Linked DNA regions of Homo sapiens: regions 2, 3, 4, 5, 6 and 7 are each linked to region 1. The links are contacts of gene promoters, found by promoter capture Hi-C in blood cells and fetal thymus (Javierre and others, 2016). All regions are on one chromosome and are shown on one strand. The core of a region is centred on a gene start or on the middle of the fragment in contact, and the rest is flanking DNA. Distances in the headings are between cores, read along the strand shown. Region 1 holds the start of CC2D1B (coiled-coil and C2 domain containing 1B). Region 2 overlaps BTF3L4 (basic transcription factor 3 like 4). Region 3 has its middle 3.2 kb from the start of COA7. Region 4 has its middle 21 kb from the start of COA7. Region 5 overlaps ZYG11B (zyg-11 family member B, cell cycle regulator). Region 6 has its middle 5.0 kb from the start of ZYG11B. Region 7 overlaps TXNDC12 (thioredoxin domain containing 12).

Region 1 (2,700 bases), core at 104-2,603:
TCTGAGAAGTTCCAAGGGCTAATCTTGAGACAGACAAACCAAGCCTGGAGACACAGCTGCAAAATTCCAAAGATTACTTCAAGGTGGCTAGTCAACAGCGGGGCCATTGTGGAGATGAGACCAGCCCACGCTCCAGGTAGGCTGGGACCCAAGATAGCCACCAGAACAAGACACACAGACGTTGTACTCTGTACAATTCTTGCATGCTTCCCATATCAAATTTTCCTTTTAAGCCGTTCTCTTTCCCCCCAAAATCGAAGTGGTTACTTTAGATGGGAATCTGGCCACTTCCCCATTACTCCGCTCTCGGTTTTTTTGTTTGTTTTAGTTTGAGACAGGGTCTCACCTTGTCACCCGGGTTGGAGTGCAGTTGACAGCTCATTGCAGCTTGGACCTCCGGGGCCACAGCGATTCTCCTGCCTCGGCCTCTCAGTAGGTAGGACTACAGGCACGCACCACCACACCCGGCTAATATTTGTAATTTTTTGTAGAGACAGGGTTTCGCCATGTTGCCCAGGCTGGTCTCGGACTCCTGAGCTCAATCTCTTGTTAACTGGACTCTGCAAGCCGCAGGGAGAAACGTGCTTTCCTTAGAAAACTAGACTAGAGCATATTTACTGATGCTAAAGAGGTTGGTTTTGTATTTCCCTGGGCAAATAATTCTCTCTGAGCCTCCGTTTCTTCTAGAGATGATGTCCATCTTGCAGGATTGAGAACTGGTATAAGCTCCATTATGAAAAGTGACTGACACAAGCTTGGCAGAAAACGGGTATACTCCGTTTCTCTCCTTAATATCCTCCATGCCATTTGATTGCACAGCAGGGTAGGCGAGTGAGAACTTAGTGTTAGACTCTGTAAAGTATTTAAGATGTGCAGCGAGCTCTGCCTGTCTGAAGTTTTCAACGGACCGGAAAAGGATACTTTCAGGTGCTGAATTATTAAGAAACATATGGTGGGCCCCATTTCCATTTCCCCAGGCTTAAAGGACATGGACAAGCAGGTGAGCCCCGCCCCTGTCTCTCTTCCAGGGCGGAGCTTGGGTAGGCCCCGCCCTCTTGCTCGGTGGGGCGGGGCGAGGGCTGGAGGCGGGGTAGGTCCAGCGAGCGAGCGAGCGCCCAGCGCCTCGGGCTGAGTGAGGGAGGAGGTTCGGTGGAGAGGCTGCAAGTGGGCGAGGGCTGGGCGCAGCGACCTCATTGGAGCCGGCCGGTGGACGCCCCGGCGGAACCGCCCAGAGTTCCTGTCCTGCGCTACCTACCCGAACGCGCCTGCGCGCTGCGAACCCCGCCCCGGTGTCACCTGTTGGAGCCCCCCGCCCGCGTAGCCGTGCACATGCGCACTGCCGGCCGCCGGCCAGTGGGGTCACGTGTTGCGCGCGAGCCACCTCCCCTGCTGGCGCTTCCTGTCGCTACCGCTGCGGCCCAGGGCCCGCGGGAGCCCAGGGCGGTGCCGGGTGAGACAAGGCCGGGGTTTGGCTCGGATTCACCGCGAGGTATGCCGCGTCCCCGCCCCTCGGCGTGGGGAGTTCTGGGGACCGCGGGGGTAGATGGAGGCGGCGCGGGCGGGGCAGGGCGGCGCGTCCCGCAGCGCGGGAGTGGGGGTCCCGTGTCGCCTCCCCCTACGGACTCCGTTGCCCACCTTCCGTGAGGCCTGGCTGTGTCATCGGGGCCGCAGCCTTGGAGTGTCTGGCCTCGCTTTCACCTGAGCCGGAGTCACTCCCGAAATCTGACACTCAGAGTCCCCCGGAGCGCCCGCCAGCTCCTCCGCCCGCTCCCCGCCGCCTCCACGCCCGTCAGCTGGTCTCCCCGCCAGCGCTGTGGCGAGATGCGCCGGCTTCCTGCCTTTTCCCCCTACCTTCTGTGCACCTCCCCTTTGGTGCCAGAATGGGGTTTCTGAAACACCGATACGATCCCGCCACTTCTTTCCCAGCGCCCTCAGAATAATGCCCAAACGCTTTTCGGCTTAGAGGTTTTCATATTCTGCCGCTTGCTCACATTTCCACCTCGGCTTGTGCATTCAGGCCTCACCGCTTATGCCCCAGTCATACCAGGCCTCAGGTTCCATTGTACAGGCCAAGCTGCTCCCCACTTCAGAGCCGTCAAGTGTTCCCTCGTCTTGGAATCCTATTTCCCTCTTTCCCCCAACTTCTTTGCGTGACTCAGCTCAGGCGTCACCGCCTCGAAGGAGGAGCCTTTTCTCCCAGGGCTGAAGAAGGGGTCACCTCAGGGCACCCATGGCCCCTGGGGCAACCCCGTGTAGTCCACCTCCACCCTGTAAATGGTCATTGAAGGCTGAGACCGTCTTAGGTTCATTTCTGCGCTCCCAGTGCCCAGCGCAAGGTCTGACACAGGAGGTCCTGTGAATAACTGTGAGATCTTTATGGGAATCAGAATGCTGAGCCAGCTTTCTCCAGAGCTCAGCTGTGAGATGGAACTTTGATGACATGTCCTTGGATGATGAAAATGTTCTGTGTGTGTGCTGTCTGGTCATAGCCCCTCACCACATATGGCTGTTAAGCACTTGGAATGTGTCTGTTGTGGCTGATGGACTGGATTTTTAGCTTTATTTCATTTTAATTCATTGAAATTTAAAATTAAATAGCCAGCTGTGGCTTCCATAAGCACAGCTTTAGAGCCTTTCTGAATTCTACCCAGCCTTCCACCCACCCTGAACCTAGAGTACTTCCCTGAATGTGCTTTTTAA
Region 2 (2,700 bases), core at 42-2,541, 300 kb after region 1:
ATACAAAAAATTAGCCAGGCGTGGTGGCGGGCGCCTGTAGTCCCAGCTACTCGGGAGGCTGAGGCAGGAGAATGGTGTGAACACAGGAGGCGGAGCTTGCAGTGAGCCGAGATCGCACCACTGCACTCCAGCCTGGGCAAAAGAGCGAGACTGCACCTCAAAACAACAACAAAAAACAAACAAAAAACCAAAAAAAAAAAACAAAAAAAAACCCTGGCTAAAATGGCAAATTTTGTGATATATATATAGATATATCTACACACACACACACACACACACACACACACACACACACACACAGAGTAAAAAACAAAACAAAAAGCCAAAAGAACAGGACCCTAAGAGAGAAAGAAGGATGCTATGGAATGGTAAAGTGAATAGGACATGGTGCTTCCCTTTTACTCTCGTGTACTCAGAGCTGTCTATCTATGGGCACCTGAGGCTCTAGCTGGAGGAAGAAGGAACTGCAGGAAGAGCCCGCCATTAACTTTAGGTCCTCTTTCTGTACAACTGGTTCAGAAAAAACAAGAACCAGGAAGAGGAAAATGTAAAAAGTAAAACTTATGTGTCCAATTACAAAATTTATATTCCCAGCCTTAAGCTTTCTCTAAGCCCTAGCTCCCTATAGCTAACTTACTGCAGAACAATCCCACCTGGAATAATCAGTACCTCTTAAATTTAATAGGTTCTAAGCAAACTCATCACAGAGAATCAGCATGCTATAAACTAGAAACAACGAATAAACATGTTCCCAGCCGTCAAGACTCTTTATAAGCTACTGAAAACAGACTACTGGATTAATAAGTTACCATTATACACCACGATATGAGATAGCGAAAAACATATTATAGAAGAGCAACTTAGGCTAACAGCAGTAAAAGTACAGAGAAAGGGTTGACTATACCTGGAAAGACAGGAAGGGTTTCATGGAGGCTGAATTATACCCTGATTAAGACAGAAGCTGTCCTCTGAATATTATTATAAAACTCTATGAAGCAACTTGGAACAATTAGGGCATCTGAATCGGAAAGTGCTTTTTGGTTACACTTCTTACCAAATAAACTGGAAAAAATCTGTTGTTTCTGAGAAATAAAACAGATCCTTTTGTCAATGGATTCATGCAATTGGGGAAGAAAAGGTGACAGCACAGTCACTACATTCAACTAGATTACCAAATAACAAGCACATTCAAATATTTTCAAATGTTACAGAACATAAAACATTTTCAGAAATTTGGTTCTGGATGATACTCTGTAAGTCTGCCTAAGAATTCCTTTCAAAAAGCTGGTTATTGGCCAGGCGCAGTGGCTCACACCTGTAATCCTCCCAGGACTTTGGGAGGCCAAGGCAGGTGGAACTTCTGAGGTCAGGAGTTTGAGACGAGCCTGGCCAATGTGGTGAAACCCCGTCTCTACTAAAAATATAAAAATTAGCCAGATGTGGTGGTGCGCCTATAATCCCAGCCACTCAGGAGGCTGAGGCATGAGAATTGCTTGAACCCAGGAGGCAGTAGGTTGCAGTGAGCCAAGACTGTGCCACTGCACTCCAGCCTGAGTAACACAGTGAGACCATCCCCCCACCAAAAAAAAAAAAAAAAAGCTGGTTATTTATTTGACCTTTGTATGAAACTGTCTCTGAAACCCCTCATCCCTTAGTTTTGTTTTTTTTTTTTTTGAGATGGAGTCTTGCTCTGTCACCAGGCTGGAGTGCAGTGGCATGATCTGGGCTCACTGAAACCTCTGCCTCCAGGGTTCAAGCGATTCCCCTGCCTCAGCCTCCTGAAGTCCTATCCTTTAGTTTCTGACAGCCTTGGATTTTTCTTTGTTTGGTAACATTAAAAACAAACAAACAAACCTATATATAATTTATTATACCAAATCAATGAACTATTATACCAAATGAACTATTATACCAAATGAACTATTATACCAATGAACTATTATACCAAATCAATGAACCAAAGAAGGTCAGAGAAGCTTGTCTTATTCCAAATAGTCTTTTAGTTTTTTTTTTTTTTTAGACAGTCTTGCTCTGTCGCCCAGGCTAGAGTGCAATGGCACGATTTCAGCTCACTGCAACCTCTGCTTCCCAGGTTCAAGCGATTCTCCTACCTCAGCCTCCTGAGTAGCTAGGATTACAGGCATGCACCACCACACTCAGCTAATTTCTGTATTTTTAGTAGAGACAGTGTTGTACCATGTTGGCCAGGCTGGTCTTGAACTCCTGACCTCAGGTGATCCACCTGCTTTGGCCTCCCAAAGTGCTACGATTACAGGAGTGAGCCACCGCACCCAACCTTAGTTTTTAAAGTTTCTGAAGAGGACACCAATTAAGCTCTGGAAGGGGGAAAAAAAATCACAAATACTGATAGCTTGGATAGTACTAATGTTAGTGACATTCAGTACTGACAGTAGAAAATTAGGGGTATGGAGAAACACTTTACTTGGCCTAAGTGCATTCAATGAATTTTGAGATCCACTACTGCTCTCCCTGTTCCTCACTCCCTAAACTGAGCACTTTCTACTTTTTCATGTTTTGAAGGTCTAAGCACAGAAAGTACTATCATATTGTTTCACAATAATGGCAAAAAGTGTCTTTTCTTCTCAAAAGTTTTTATCTGCTTTAAACTGCCAAAACTCAAAAAGGCAGCATATTCCTGAGTTCACACTTTGTAACAAGTTTTAAACATCCCAAAGTAAA
Region 3 (2,700 bases), core at 163-2,662, 340 kb before region 1:
ATTAAGACCTATCCCGAGGCCTGGAGCGGTGGCTCACGCCTGTAATCCCAACGCGTTGGGAGGCCGAGAATGGATAATCTTTCTAACAAATGGTGCTAGAGTAATTATAAACCCACATGCAATAAAGTGAACCTCAACTGTTATCTCATACCTCATACAAAAATTAATCTGAAATGGATCATAGGCTTTCTAAATATAAGATTTAAACCATAAAATTTCTACAAGAAAATATAGGATAAAATCTTAGTGACTTTGGGTTTGGCAAAGACTTCTTGAATACGAAAGAAAAAGCACAAACTATTAACAAGAGGAAAAAAATCAATAAACTAGACACACCATTAAAATGAAAAACTTTTGGTTTTGAAAGACACTGTTATAAAAACAAAAAAGGCAGGCCAAACTGGGAGAAAATATATGCAAAACTTCTGATAACGGACTTGAATATATAAATAACTCTTAGAATGCAATAATAAAAAACAATCCAATAAAAAGGGGGCGAAAGATTTTAACAAACATGTCATCAAAGATACACAGATGGCAGATAAGCACATGAAAAGATGCCAACATTATTGGTCACTCAAAAAAATACAAACTAAACCTATGATAAGATACTGTTATATTCACTATAATGGCTAAAATTTTAAAAGACTGACCACACATCAAATTATGGTGAGGATGTAGGGCAACTAGAACTGTCAAACACTGCTGGTAAGAATGTAATGGTAGAATCACTTTAGAAAACAGTTTGGGTGTTTCTTAAAGTTAGATATATACCTACCATATGATCTAGCCATTCCACTCCTAGGTATGAACCCCAAAAATGGAAATGAATGCCCATACAAAGACACGTACACAAATATTCACAGCAGCTTTATTTGTAAGCCAAAAACTGGAAACCCAAATGGATAAACAAATTGTGATATATCTACATCATGAAATGTCATTCACTAAGAAAAAGAATGAACTATTAATACGTGTGGTAACATGGATGAATCTCAAAATAATTATGCTGAATCGAAGAAACTATACAAAAAGAAACAGTACTTACTGTATCATTCTATTTAGATAATATCCTACAAAATGCAACCCATCTTCAGTGACAGAAAGCAGATTAATGGTTGCTGGGGAGGGAATGAAGTACAAAGTCACATGAGGAAATTTTGAGGTGATGAATATGCTCATTATCTTGATTGTGATAATGGTTTACAGGTGTATACATATGTAGAAACTCATAATTGTTACTTTAAAGTTATGTGCAGTTTCCTGTATGTCAATTAGACCTTCATTTAATGTTTCTTATAGCTTTAAGAAAAACCTGGGTCAAAAGAGCAAGAGTCAGTGATATTCTAAGTTCCATTAATGAAAACCAAATTATTTGGAATGATAATCCCTCTTCTTAATTCAGTCAACAATACTTGGGCACCTAATATTGCTGGGCACAATCAAGACACTGTTATTATAACAAGAATGAGCTAAGACCACATGGACGATGTCAAATTGAAGCAGAGAACTTAAGAAGGCAAGCCAAAAAAAAAAAAAAAATACAGGGGAAAAGCACTCTAGGGCAGAGGCAACAGTTAGTTCAAACGGATCACGAGGTCAGGAGTTCGAGACCAGCCTGGCCGATATGGTGAAACCCCATCTCTACTAAAAATACAAAAATTAGGCGGGCATTGTGGTGGGCGCCTGTAATCCCAGCTATTCAGGAGGCTGAGGCAGGAGAATTGCTTGAAACCGTAAGGCGGAGGTTGCGGTGAGCCAAAATCACGCCACTGCACTCTAGCCTGGATGAAAGAGCAAAACAAAAAAAAGTGACCTCTTACTTGGTTGAGCCTCTCATCACCAACTAACTCTCTTGTGCCCTCTACCGCTCAGGTGATCTCATTTCAATGCAGTTCAACTCAGAAAATAAAGGGAAACATTCCCAGATTTTAGTAATCGACATCACCCTGCTCTATTCTATCATCAAGCCCTATTCTATTCTTGGCCCTGTGACCAGCATACAGGACACAGAGGTCACAGTCTGGTGGGGAACACAGACTTTCATGCCATTATTGGCATGACAAGAAACATTCCTGGAACAGGAATGACTTTGAGCCAGGCGCTCTGCCAAGCACATTGCATACATGAACTTGTAGTCCTTCTGACAGCCATTACAAATGGATCTGCATTTACAGAAGAGGATTCAGACTCACAAACATGATTGGTTTAAGGTTACAATTTAATAAACATGGAACATGGATTCTGAACTAAGATCTGTCCCCACTCCAAAGCCAGTTCTTTCTTTCCTACTACACTATACCAGAATAAACCAAGTGGTGTGGAACACCAAAATGGGAGCATCTAAATCTAATTTGAATGTGTGTAATTGTTGTGTCTGGGAAGACTTTACATAGGAGAGTATTTCCGATTTGTGTCAAAAAGGGTGGTCCAGGCATCAAGAGCAGAGGTAAACAGGGACACAAACTTGGGATCTATTCAGAGAACAGAAGGTTGGTGGGATGTGGGGGAAGAGAGGCAGAAAATAAGGCTAGAATCAGATTGCACAGGGTCTTGAAGGCCATCCTAAAGAAGATGACCTCAAACCAAAGTTCAAGGATTCCCATCCTGGGCCATGTGTACTGAGGAGTCCCCTAAGGTGATCAGGGTATAAGAAACCACAGGTAAATGTGGTATATTGCCTGGAATGTCAATTTTACT
Region 4 (2,700 bases), core at 68-2,567, 310 kb before region 1:
TCTCTCTCACACACACACACACACACACAGAGAGAAATTAAGTGGTGATGGATGCGTTCATTAATTTGACTATAGTAATCAGTACACAATGTATATCAAATCATCACACTGTATACCTTGAATATATACACTTTTTGTTTATCCATTAAATATTTTAAAAGAAAAAGTAACAACAAAATACCCAGGCTGTTTCTTACAGCCAAGCTTTTGCTGATGTCTGGGTCCACCAAGACCTACGGAATGAAAATCTGGATTTTAAATAAGAAAACCACGGGAAATTCTTATTCATACTAAAATGGGCAGCCCACTCAAGTGGTGTAAAGCCGCAGCTCCTTAGCTTGTCACTACAACCCCTCTGCAGTCTGGTCTCCACACCTTCAGCTCTTTACAATTCCTAATAGTCCTTTAAAACTTAGCCCACATGTCACCTCCTCCAGGAAGTCATCCTGGACCCTCAAGTTCCGTGGTCTTCTGATAGTCCTTGTGCTTCTCTCAGTTCTTTCTTTCCTTTTTTAAAATTTAGTGGGTTTTTTTGTTTTTGTTTTTTTTTTGAGACAGAGTCTCACTCTGTTGCCCAGGCTAGAGTGCAATGGCATGATCTCGGCTCACTGCAACCTCTGCCTCTCAAGTTCAAGCGATTCTCCTGCCTCAGCCCCCCAAGTAGGTGGGATTACAGGCACCTGGCATCCTGCCTAATTTTTGTATTTTTAGTAGAGATGGGCTTTTGCCATGTTGGCCTGTTGGCCAGGCTGGTCTCGAACTCCTGGCCTCAAGTGATCCATCTGCCTTGGCCCCCCAAAGTGCTGGGATTACAGGCGTGAGCCACTTCGTCCAGGCTTAATTTGATTTTTTAAAAACAGAGACAAGTTCTCACTATGTTGCCCAGGTTGGTCTCAAACTTCTGAACTCAAGCGATCCACCTGCCTCAGCCTCCCAAAATGATGGCACTACTATGCCCAGCCTGTCTCTGTCCTTTTCACATGGTTTGGGACAGGCTGTTAAGTGCCTGTCCCAATAGATTATGTCCTAATAGATTATGTCTCATTTCTATTCCCTGTGCCTAGCTCAGGATCTGGTACAGATGAGATACATAATAAATCTTTATTGAAGGAAAGGGAAGGGAAGGGAAACTCTCAGAGACAAATGCTATCTTCCAGTAGATCAACTGAGCATTGAAAAGGTAGCGTTTTGGAAAAGAATCTGGATTTAAATAATTTCTCTGCAAATGTGTTATGTTTCCTCTATGAGCCTCATTTTCCTCATCTCTAGAGTAAGGATAATGTTTACTTTTCAGGGTTAGTGTAAGGGTTAAAGGGTTTAATGAGATAAAGTAAGTGCAGTGCCTGGCTCGATGCCTGGCACATTCTAAATTGTGTAATAGCTCACTGGAGGGCTATCTTTCGGAAGCAGAACTAGGCTTGTTCTGTACAGCTCCAGAGAGCAGAACTAGGCCCAATGGATGGAAGCTGCTAGGAGACAGAACTCAGTTCATCGACATCTGAGTGGAAGAAAGCATTTTCTACTTGGCAGAATGAGAAGCTCTGGGAGGAGGTGAACTTCCTATTACAGGGATATGCAAGAAGAGAGGAGATGCTCGCCTGTCAGGGCTGATGCAGAGGGGACTAACTCTATATGAGATTTGGGTGGAGTGAGTATGCAAAACCTGAAAGATGGGAGCCAGATAAGGCATTTCCATTCAGTGCCCTCCATAATTCATTATTCATATGGTCAACACTGAGGGCTTCCTCTAGGCTGGGTGGCCCTAGGTTGGGCGCTGGGGATGCAGGGCTGGATTTGACAGAGTCTTTATCATTTAGGAAATTACAGTCTAAATTTTGATCATTTATTGAGCAACTACTTTGTACCAGATGCTCTAATCATCTCAGGAAACTTTCATTCTCACTGTTTTTCAAATAAACTGAGGCTCAGCCAAAGTGGCTTACAGAAAGACTCACAGACCAATGAGTATTGCAGCCGGGATTAGAACTTAGTCCTGCTTGTCTCCTAAACCCTCTTCATATGACTCAAGGCTGCCTCACATCCTGATGTTGGAAACACTTTGCAGTCTCAGGGAGACCCTCAAACAGCACCCGAGGACCTTTTGGGTACCAAGTAGATGCTGATGAACAGGAGCTAAAAGGCTAAGGTCAGCTGCAGGAGGACATGGACTCCCTGTAGCACGCTCTGTGCCCAAGTTCCCTCCAGCTGGGGCCATGCGGAGAGTCCAGGAGAACTTGCTGAGGTCAGACTTCACTGCTCACATGACCAGCCAAGCTGCCTGGGCCAGGGCTCCCTGAGGGAACTTGAAACCCGGCTGGGTTCCATCAGCTCCAAGAATAGCAGCTGACCCTACTCTCCCCAAGATGACGGTGTCCGATCAGGTTCCAGGAGGCCCCAGTGGACTCCAGACATCAGTGGCATCAAGCTTTGACCTTGAAGCTGCCCTGGGGTGGTGTAATAACAGCAACATTCATTAACTGCCCACTGTGTGCAGGGCGCCTCCTGAAGTGGGGAACATCCTGTAAGGGAGGTCTAAGTATGGAACCCATTTTACAGGTGAGGAAATTGGGGCTCAGAGATACTGAGAACTTACCCAAAGTCACAGTGAATATGCGGCAGAGCTGGGTTGGAGCCTGGGCTCCCTCTGCCAGTGACCCTGCTTCTGTGAGGAGAGAAGAGCACTCTCAAGACCTCAGAAGA
Region 5 (2,700 bases), core at 49-2,548, 380 kb before region 1:
ACTTTTTGACTCTTGAAGTAACAAAACATAAACACATTGTACAGCTGTAAAAAAATACAAAAAAAATTCTCTCTTTTACATCTCTTTTTCTATCTTTTATTTTTTTTAGAGACAGGGTCTTGCTCTGTCACCCAGGCTGGAGTACAATAGCATAATCACAACTCACTGCAGCCTCGACTTCCCAGGCTCAAGAGATCCTCCCACCTCAGCCATCCGAATAGCTGGGACTACAGGCACGTGTCATCATGTCTGGCTAATTTTTTGTTTTTGTGTAGAGACGGGGTCTTACTATGTTGCTCAGGTTTGAACTCCTGGGCTCAAGTGATCCTCCTGCCTCAGCCTCCAAAGTGCTGGGGTAATAGGCGTGAGTCACCATGCCTGGTCTCTCAACTCATAAGAATCAGGCTCAAGATGTCCTACCCAAAAGCTTCCTAAGACTGACAATTCCTGTAACAGAACACAAGGGCTTTCACAGTGCTCCTTTATTGTATCTTTGGGTGACTTTTTTCTAAAGATTGGGCCAGAAATCAGGTGACTACAAAAATTACAAACTCGACAATTTAATGATAGAAATAGATTTTTTATGGATATCTTTCTAAAAGACTATGTAATACTATGATGAAGAGTGTGGGCTTGGGAGTCAGACTGCCTGGATTAAAATGCCACCTCTACCATTTACAAACCTATATAACCTTAAGCAAAGTACTTAATCTCCCTGAACCTCAGTTTCATGATTGTAAAATGAAGACAAGAGCAGTGCCTATGTCATAGGATTGTTGCCAGAATTAAATAAATTCTAAATGCAACACACTAAGAACAGTAACTGGCATATACTACCTGCTCAATAAATGTTATTACCACAGAATATCAGCTGCATAGAAAAAAACCCCGCATTTTCTTCTCTACTGTATTCTCAGAGCCTAAAACAATGCCTACTACATAGTGGGCACTAAATGTTTATTGCATGAATAAATGAAAAGTCAAGCATGAATTTATTGTTAAGCATAACTAAAATACACATTTGCCTCTAGAGAAAAAGACTACGTATCCAGAGAGAAATATTAAGTCCCAAGTCTAGCCTTGAAACCAAAATGAAACTGAAAGGCACTCAAGTATCATTTGAGTTCACAGGTACCTATGAGAAATTGAGATGTTAGATATCTCTGACTTCTCATCGTAATACTCCATGGAAAATCTCCTCTTAGTTGTTTGGGTTTTTAAAAAACTTTCTTTTCTTTTCTTTTTTTTTTTTTTTTTTTTTGAGACGAAGTCTCACTCTTTTGCCCCAGGCTGGAGTGCAATGGTGCAATCTCGGCTCACTGCAACCTCTGCCTCTTGGATTCAAGCAATACTCCTGCCTTAGCCTCTCGAGTAGCTGGGATTACAGGTGCATGCCACCACACCCGGCTACTTTTTGTATTTTTAGTAGAGATGGGGTTTCACCATGTTGGCCAGACTGATCTCGAACTCCTGGCCTCAGGTGATCCACCCGCCTCGGCCTCCCAAAGTGCTGGGATTACAGGCATGAGCCACCCCGCCCAGCAAAAACTTTTATTTTCTATTACAAATTCAACCAAGTCAGGCTTCCAGAAATAAACATCTACTATAACCTTAGAGATGATCTAATCCCTTACCCTCCCCCGCCCCAACTGCAATCATTTTACAGACAAAGAGGAAGGTCAAGAAGGTAGTACCAGCAGGGCGCAGTGGCTCACACCTGTAATCCCAGCACTTTGGAAGGCCAAGGTGAGCAGATCACTTGAGGCCAAGAGTTGGAGACCAGCCTGGCCAACATGGTGAAACCCCGTTTCTACTAAAAATACAAAAAATTAGCTAAGGGTGGTGGCGCATGCCTGTAATCCAAGCTACTCAGGAGACTCAGCCATGAGAATTGCTTGAACCCCGGAGGCGGAGGTCGCAGTGAGCTGAGATGGTGCCACTTGCACCCAGCCTGGGTGACAGAGACCCTGTCTCAAAAAAAAAAAAAAAAAAAAGAAGGTAGTACCAAGGGCATAGATCACAGACAATAGATAACATTGTGTTTAAGGGTATGGAGATATTGAACTATTTGGTATAAACTATGGGGAATTGTTTTTCTTTTTAAAAGAACACCAACTACTCTTTGGAGACTCCTAGATGACAAATTGAAAAGCAAGTAAAGCAAGCTTCTTGCACATATCACTTTAAGGCCTGGCCACTATGGCAAGTGGATATGTGCTAAAGGGCAAGGAGGTAGAGTTCTACCTAAAAAAGATCAAGAGCTGGAAAGCTACATAAATGCCCTGCTCTTTCATCTAACGTCATGTGATAAAGCTATTCTAGGAAACAAAACAAAAATTCAGGTCAGTGGCCATTGAGCAGATCACAGGAATTGTCCACTCAAAGAGATACTTTAGCACTATTTTCCTGTTACCTACAATAACCAGGAGTTTTGAAATATAATAAGGTAAACAGAGAAGTGGGGTTAATAATGGAAAGAACACTGGGCTTGCACAGTCAGTTCTGGCTCTGCTACTTACTAGCTGTGTGACCTTAGGAAAGTCAATTAACTTCTCAGTTTCCTTATCTGAAAAATTGAAGCTAAACCTCTTGACTATCCCACAAAATAGTAATGAGGAATAAATGGGACATCCATGAAAATACCTTTAAAACAAGGGCCAGGAGCGTGGCTCATGCCTGTAATACCAGCACTTTGGGAGG
Region 6 (2,700 bases), core at 11-2,510, 360 kb before region 1:
AACTCCATCTCTACTAAAAATACAAAAGAAATTAGCTGGGTGTAGCGGTGCGCACCTGTAGTCCCAGCTACTCAGGAAGCTGAGGCAGGAGACTCGCTTGAACCCGGCAGGCGGAAGTTGCAGTGAGCCAAGATCACTCCATTGCACTCCAGCCTGGGCGACAGAGAGGGACTCCTTCTCAAAAAAAAAAAAAAAAAAAAAGAAAGAAAAAAAAATTAGAGTTCTAGCCAGCCAAGGTGGTTCACACTTGTAATCCCAGCACTTTGGGAGGCCAAGGCAGGCAGATGGTTTGAGACCAAAAGTTTGAGACCAGCCTGGGCAAAATGGCAAAATCCCATCTCTACAAAAAAATACCAAAAAGTAGCTGGGCATGGTGGTAGTTTCAGCTACTCAAGAGACTGAGGTGGGAGGATCACCTGAGCCCTGGAGGTCGAGGCTGCTATGAGGCATCATCACGCCACTGCACTCCAGCCTGTGTGACAGAGTAAGACCCTATCTCCAAAAATAAATAAATAAATAAGAGTTCTGCAATCAAGAAAGAATGGAGTCACAGTTGATTTGCTTGATTTGCAATCAATGAAGCACAAACAGATCAAAAATACATCCAAATTACCTAGGAATTTAGTATAATACTGAAGGTAGCATTTCAAGTCAGAAAGCAAAAGTTGGAATTGTATTTGGTGTTAGAATAACTGGATAGACATCTAGAAAATTTTAACTTGGATTTATACTTCACACTATTCACCAAGACAAATTTCAAATATATCAAATATTAAAATGTAAAAAAGAAGAACGAGCATGGTGGCTCACGCCTGTAATTCCAGCACTTTGGGAGGCCCAGGCAGGCAGATCACTTGAAGTCGAGTTCAAGACCACCCTGGCCAAGATGGTGAAACCCCATCTCTACTAAAAATACAAAATTAGGCCGGGCACAGTGGCTTCCAGCACTTTGAGAGGTCAAGGCAGGTGGATCACAAGGTCAGGAGTTCAAGACCAGCCTGACCTAGATGGTGAAACTCCGTCTCTATTAAAACTACAAAAATTACAGGCAACGGCTGTAATCCCAGCTACTCCGGTGGCTGAGACAAGAGAATCGCTTGAACCTGGGTGGCAGAGATTGCAGTGAGCCAAGATCGAGCCACTGCACTCCAGCCTGGATGACCGAGTGAGACTCCGTCTCAAAAAAAAAAAAAAAAAAAAAGCCGGGCACAGTGGCTCCCGCTTGTAATCCCAGCACTTTGGGAGGCCGAGGTGGGCAGATCATGAGGTCAGGAGATCGAGACCATCCTGGCTAACACGGTGAAACCCCGTCTCTACTAAAAATACAAAAAATTAGCCGGGCGCAGTGGCGGACGCCTGCAGTCCCAGCTACTCGGGAGGCTGAGGCAGGAGAATGGCGTGAACCCGGCAGGCGGAGCTTGCAGTGAGCCGAGATCGCGCCACTGCACTTCAGCCTGGGCAACAGAGCGAGACTCTGTCTCAAAAAAAAAAAAAAAAAAAAAAAAAGTAAAAAAGAAAGAAGCGCCGGGCGCGGTGGCTCACGCCTGTAATCCCAGCACTTTGGGAGGCCGAGGCGGGTGGATCACGAGGTCAGGAGATCGAGACCATCCTGGCTAACAAGGTGAAACCCCGTCTCTACTAAAAATACAAAAAATTAGCCGGGCGCGGTGGCGGGCGCCTGTAGTCCCAGCTACTCGGGAGGCTGAGGCAGGAGAATGGCGTGAACCCGGGAAGCAGAGCTTGCAGTGAGCCGAGATTGCGCCACTGCAGTCCGCAGTCCGGCCTGGGCGACAGAGCGAGACTCCGTCACAAAAAAAAAAAAAAAAAAAAAGAAAAAAAAAAAGAAAGAAGGAAACCATAACATACTGGAAGAAAGAATCATGGGAGAATTTTTTAGAATCTTAAAGTAAGGAAGGTCTTCTTAAGTACAAAACAAGAGCTGGGCACGGTGGCTCATGCCTGTAATCCCAGCACTTTGGGAGGCTGAGGTGGGCACATCATGAGGTCAGGAGTTCGAGACCACCCTGGCCAACATGGCAAAACCCCGTCTCTACTAAAAATACAAAAATTAGCCGGGCATGGTGGTAATCCCAGCTACTCCAGAGGCTGAGGCAGGAGAATCCCTTGAAACCGGGAGGCGGAGGTTGCAGTGAGCCAAGATTGCGCCGCTGTACTCCAGCCTGGGCAAAAGAGGGAAACTCCGTCTCAATAAATAAATAAATAAGTACAAAACAAAACCAAGATGCCATAACAGAAAAGATTGATAAATTCAGCTATGTAGAAATAAAAAATGTAAGGCAAAAGTCACCATAAGTAGAGTCAGATAACAAATGACTATATGTATATATGTATGCATTTCATATAGGAAAATGAATAATGTTTATATTTGTATTCAGAGCTGAAATCAATAAGAACAAAACCCAAGGGGAAAAATGCACAAAAGATGTGAACTGATAGTTCACAGAAAAAGAAATAGAAATGGCTCTTCAATGCTCACTCTTACTTATAATAATAAGATAAAGGCAAATTAGAATTTCTTTGAAATTACCATTTCTCATCTGTCAGATTGGCAAAGATCTATGATTGATAAGATACTGTGTGGAAAGGAGGGGTGATGTTGAACAGGTATGCTCATATTTTGTTGTTGGGAGTGTAATTGGGATAACTTCTATGGAGGATAATTTAACGGTGGCATTTATA
Region 7 (2,700 bases), core at 82-2,581, 310 kb after region 1:
GTTACTTCTTCCGCGAAGAGCTAGGTTACTGCCACTTGCTTGCCTTTGGGAAACAGCACCTGCATCCCAGGTAGCTGTATCTAGTGCATAAGAAGAGCCAAGCGAATGGTAGAAGGTCTGCTGTTTAAGGGTCCCCAACAATTGTCCTTGCTGTGGTTCAGCGAAGTTTTTTTGTAAGTGAGCGATCAGTGGTTATGAATGGAGGTTAGGAGGTGTGGCCCCCTACTCCATCCATTACCTACATCTCCATTCTAAGTTTTAACACCTCTCTCCTCATCAGCCCTTACTTAGTTGAAAGTTGGACTGACAGTCTGTGAACTCAGAGTTTATGCTTTTCTAAGTAGATGAATTGTAGCATGGATCCCAACCCCTCTTCCTTTTTTTTTTTTCACTGACCTTACTGTATGGAATGATTCTGCTGCAATCCTTCTGTTTTTGTTTTCTCTTATCCTCTCTATTTTCACATCTATTGGTGAGTAATAAGATTGGGTGGGCATTCATTTTGCCTGAATGCAATCATTCCTTCATTCCGTAAATAATTTTTGATCACCTCCTATATTTCAGGCACTGTCCTAGGCACTAGGGATATAGCTGTAAACAGGACAGACAAGGTTCCTACTCTGGTGGAGCTTATATTCATGTCAGAGAGACAGAGTAGACTCATGAACAAATTAATAAGACAGTTTCAACTAGGAACAAGTGCTGGGAAAACAATAAGACTGTGATGGAATAGGAAGTAGAAAGGCTGGGGAGGTTGGTGGAGCTGGCATCACTTGAATTATGAAGGTCAGGAGAAGCTTTTTGGAGAAGGTGATATGTGGGTTTCCATCTCAGTGATGAAACTGCATGACAAATCCTGTTAGGCCAGAATGTTTTAAATACTGACAATCCCATTTTAAAACAGACTACCGTTTTTTTTTGTTGTTGTTTTGTTTTGTTTTTTAGACAGAGTCTCACACTGTTGCTCGGGCTGGAGTCCAGTGGCATGATCTTGGCTCACTGCAACCTCCGCCTCCTGGGTTCAAGCGATTCTCCTGCCTTAGCCTCCCGAGTAGCTGGGATTACAGGTGCCTGCCACCACGTCTGGCTAATTTTTTGTATTTTTAGTAGAGACGGGGTTTCACTATGTTGGCAAGGCTGGTCTCAAACTCCTGACCTCATGATCTGCCCGCCTCGGCCTCCCAAAGTGCTGGGATTACAGGCATGAGCCACTGCGCCCAGCCAGCTACTGTATATTTAAAGTTGTAAGTACTGAGAGTAACAGAAGAGTAGAGTGTTGGGTACGTGGGTTTAGATCTGAGTTTTTTCTTTGCTGTTTTTTCTGTTTGTTTGTTTGCTTTTGTTTTTGAGACGGAGTCTCACTCTGCCAGGCTGGAGTGGAGTGGTGCAATCTCGGCTTACTGCAACTTCTGCCTCCCGGGTTCAAATGATTCTCCTGCCTCAGCCTCCCAAGTAGCTGGGACTACAGGCATGTGCCACTATGCCCAGCTAATTTTTTTTTTTTTTGTATTTTTTTGTATTTTTAGTAGAGATGGAGTTTCACCATGTTGGCCAGGCTGATCTCAAACTCCTGACCTCAGGTAATCCTCCCTCCTTGGCCTCCCAAAGTATTGGGATTATAGGCGGGAGCCACTGCGCCAGGCCTAGATCTGAGTTTTAATTTGTTCTGCCACTCACTAGCTGAGTAGCCTTGGGCAAGTTTCTTAACTCTCAAAGCCTCCGTTCCTCATCTGCAAAATGGGCATCATAACTACCTCAGACACTCAACAAATAATTTGCTCTGTTCAAGTTACTGTGTTAGGTGTAGGTAATACCTTGGAATCAGGTATTTTGTATTTTTATTCCTTGTTAGATATTAAGCTTTGTGTGGTTGTTCCAGTTACCATTGTTGTGTAATAAATCACTCCAAAATTTAGTGGGCATGAAGAAATCATTTTATTATGCTCACAATTGTGTGAGTAAGGAATTCAAACAAGGCACACTGGGAAAGGCTTGTCCCTGTTCTATGATGACTGGGGCCTTGGCTAAGCTGGTTACCTCTCCATGTGATCTTTCCGCATGGGCTCCTATGGGTTTCCTCACAGTAGCTTTATGGGAGGCTGGATTCCAAGAGTGCGTGCCATAAGAGAACAAGGTGGAAATGCATGGCATTTTTGTCACCTAGCCTTACAAGGCACATAGCATCACTTCCACAGTACCCTGTAGGGGCAGATTCAAGGGAATGGAATATTAGGACCCCCACCCTCACCCCCAATGGGAGGTATGTTGAGGTCACATTGTAAGAAGGGCATATCTGCCACAGTGAACCAGGACTATTTCTGTCTTGTTCATGCTCAGGAATATTTGTTGAAAGAGGAAATGAATGATAAACATGATAATTGTGATTCCTGTCCTTTTTCAGCTTGCAGTCTGGTAAGATACCAAGACAAGTAAGCAGACAGTTACATGGCAGCATGATATGTGCTTTAAGCAGAGAAATACCAGGTAGCTGCAGGAGCACATAGAAGGGCAGCTTAGGGCAGTGGGGCTGGGTTGGGAGGATTCAATCAAAAAACAAAAGGCACTTAATATTGTGTCGGACACTTAGAAAATATTTAATAAACATTAACCAGTATTATTTCCCCCATGGAAATAATAATAATAATCCCTAAAAGGAATTAATACTATTTCAAACTTTTGTTTTATGTATCTCTTGGGTAT

Evidence for each region. Contacts are between HindIII fragments. The CHiCAGO score rates a contact against its expected background, and 5 or more counts as called.
Region 2: a fragment that was not itself captured here is called in contact with the fragment with the promoter of CC2D1B in region 1 in 2 of 17 cell types (endothelial precursors and erythroblasts); the score reaches 5.4 in endothelial precursors.
Region 3: a contact is called between a fragment that was not itself captured here and the fragment with the promoter of CC2D1B in region 1, in 9 of 17 cell types (fetal thymus, naive CD4 T cells, naive CD8 T cells and 6 more). The highest score is 9.6, in fetal thymus.
Region 4: a contact is called between a fragment that was not itself captured here and the fragment with the promoter of CC2D1B in region 1, in 12 of 17 cell types (endothelial precursors, M0 macrophages, naive CD4 T cells and 9 more). The highest score is 11.4, in endothelial precursors.
Region 5: a contact is called between a fragment that was not itself captured here and the fragment with the promoter of CC2D1B in region 1, in 5 of 17 cell types (naive CD4 T cells, naive CD8 T cells, naive B cells and 2 more). The highest score is 6.4, in naive CD4 T cells.
Region 6: a contact is called between a fragment that was not itself captured here and the fragment with the promoter of CC2D1B in region 1, in 6 of 17 cell types (non-activated CD4 T cells, total CD8 T cells, total B cells and 3 more). The highest score is 6.7, in non-activated CD4 T cells.
Region 7: a fragment that was not itself captured here is called in contact with the fragment with the promoter of CC2D1B in region 1 in 1 of 17 cell types (fetal thymus); the score reaches 7.7 in fetal thymus.

The regions. Positions count from the first base shown.
Region 1 is chr1:52,364,858-52,367,557 of GRCh38, reverse strand. CC2D1B (coiled-coil and C2 domain containing 1B) reads left to right here and starts at 1,353. Exons shown (of 25, transcript NM_001330585.2): 1 at 1,353-1,489. RefSeq lists silencers at 974-1,603, 1,644-1,753. The HindIII fragment of the contact is 5,331 bases long and covers 757-2,700 here.
Region 2 is chr1:52,069,532-52,072,231 of GRCh38, reverse strand. All of the region lies in intron 3 of BTF3L4 (basic transcription factor 3 like 4), which reads right to left. Among named protein-coding and RNA genes, the nearest start is that of BTF3L4, 15 kb to the right of the region's middle. The HindIII fragment of the contact is 1,375 bases long and covers 604-1,978 here.
Region 3 is chr1:52,700,234-52,702,933 of GRCh38, reverse strand. No RefSeq gene overlaps it. Among named protein-coding and RNA genes, the nearest start is that of COA7, 3.2 kb to the right of the region's middle. RefSeq lists an enhancer at 1-56. The HindIII fragment of the contact is 3,859 bases long and covers 1-2,700 here.
Region 4 is chr1:52,676,280-52,678,979 of GRCh38, reverse strand. No RefSeq gene overlaps it. Among named protein-coding and RNA genes, the nearest start is that of COA7, 21 kb to the left of the region's middle. The HindIII fragment of the contact is 2,221 bases long and covers 207-2,427 here.
Region 5 is chr1:52,739,860-52,742,559 of GRCh38, reverse strand. All of the region lies in intron 1 of ZYG11B (zyg-11 family member B, cell cycle regulator), which reads right to left. Among named protein-coding and RNA genes, the nearest start is that of ZYG11B, 15 kb to the right of the region's middle. The HindIII fragment of the contact is 1,738 bases long and covers 430-2,167 here.
Region 6 is chr1:52,720,061-52,722,760 of GRCh38, reverse strand. No RefSeq gene overlaps it. Among named protein-coding and RNA genes, the nearest start is that of ZYG11B, 5.0 kb to the left of the region's middle. The HindIII fragment of the contact is 3,938 bases long and covers 1-2,700 here.
Region 7 is chr1:52,051,906-52,054,605 of GRCh38, reverse strand. All of the region lies in intron 1 of TXNDC12 (thioredoxin domain containing 12), which reads left to right. It overlaps TXNDC12-AS1 (TXNDC12 antisense RNA 1), which reads right to left. Exons shown (of 3, transcript NR_126385.1): 3 at 1,923-2,199. Among named protein-coding and RNA genes, the nearest start is that of TXNDC12, 1.9 kb to the left of the region's middle. The HindIII fragment of the contact is 1,063 bases long and covers 800-1,862 here.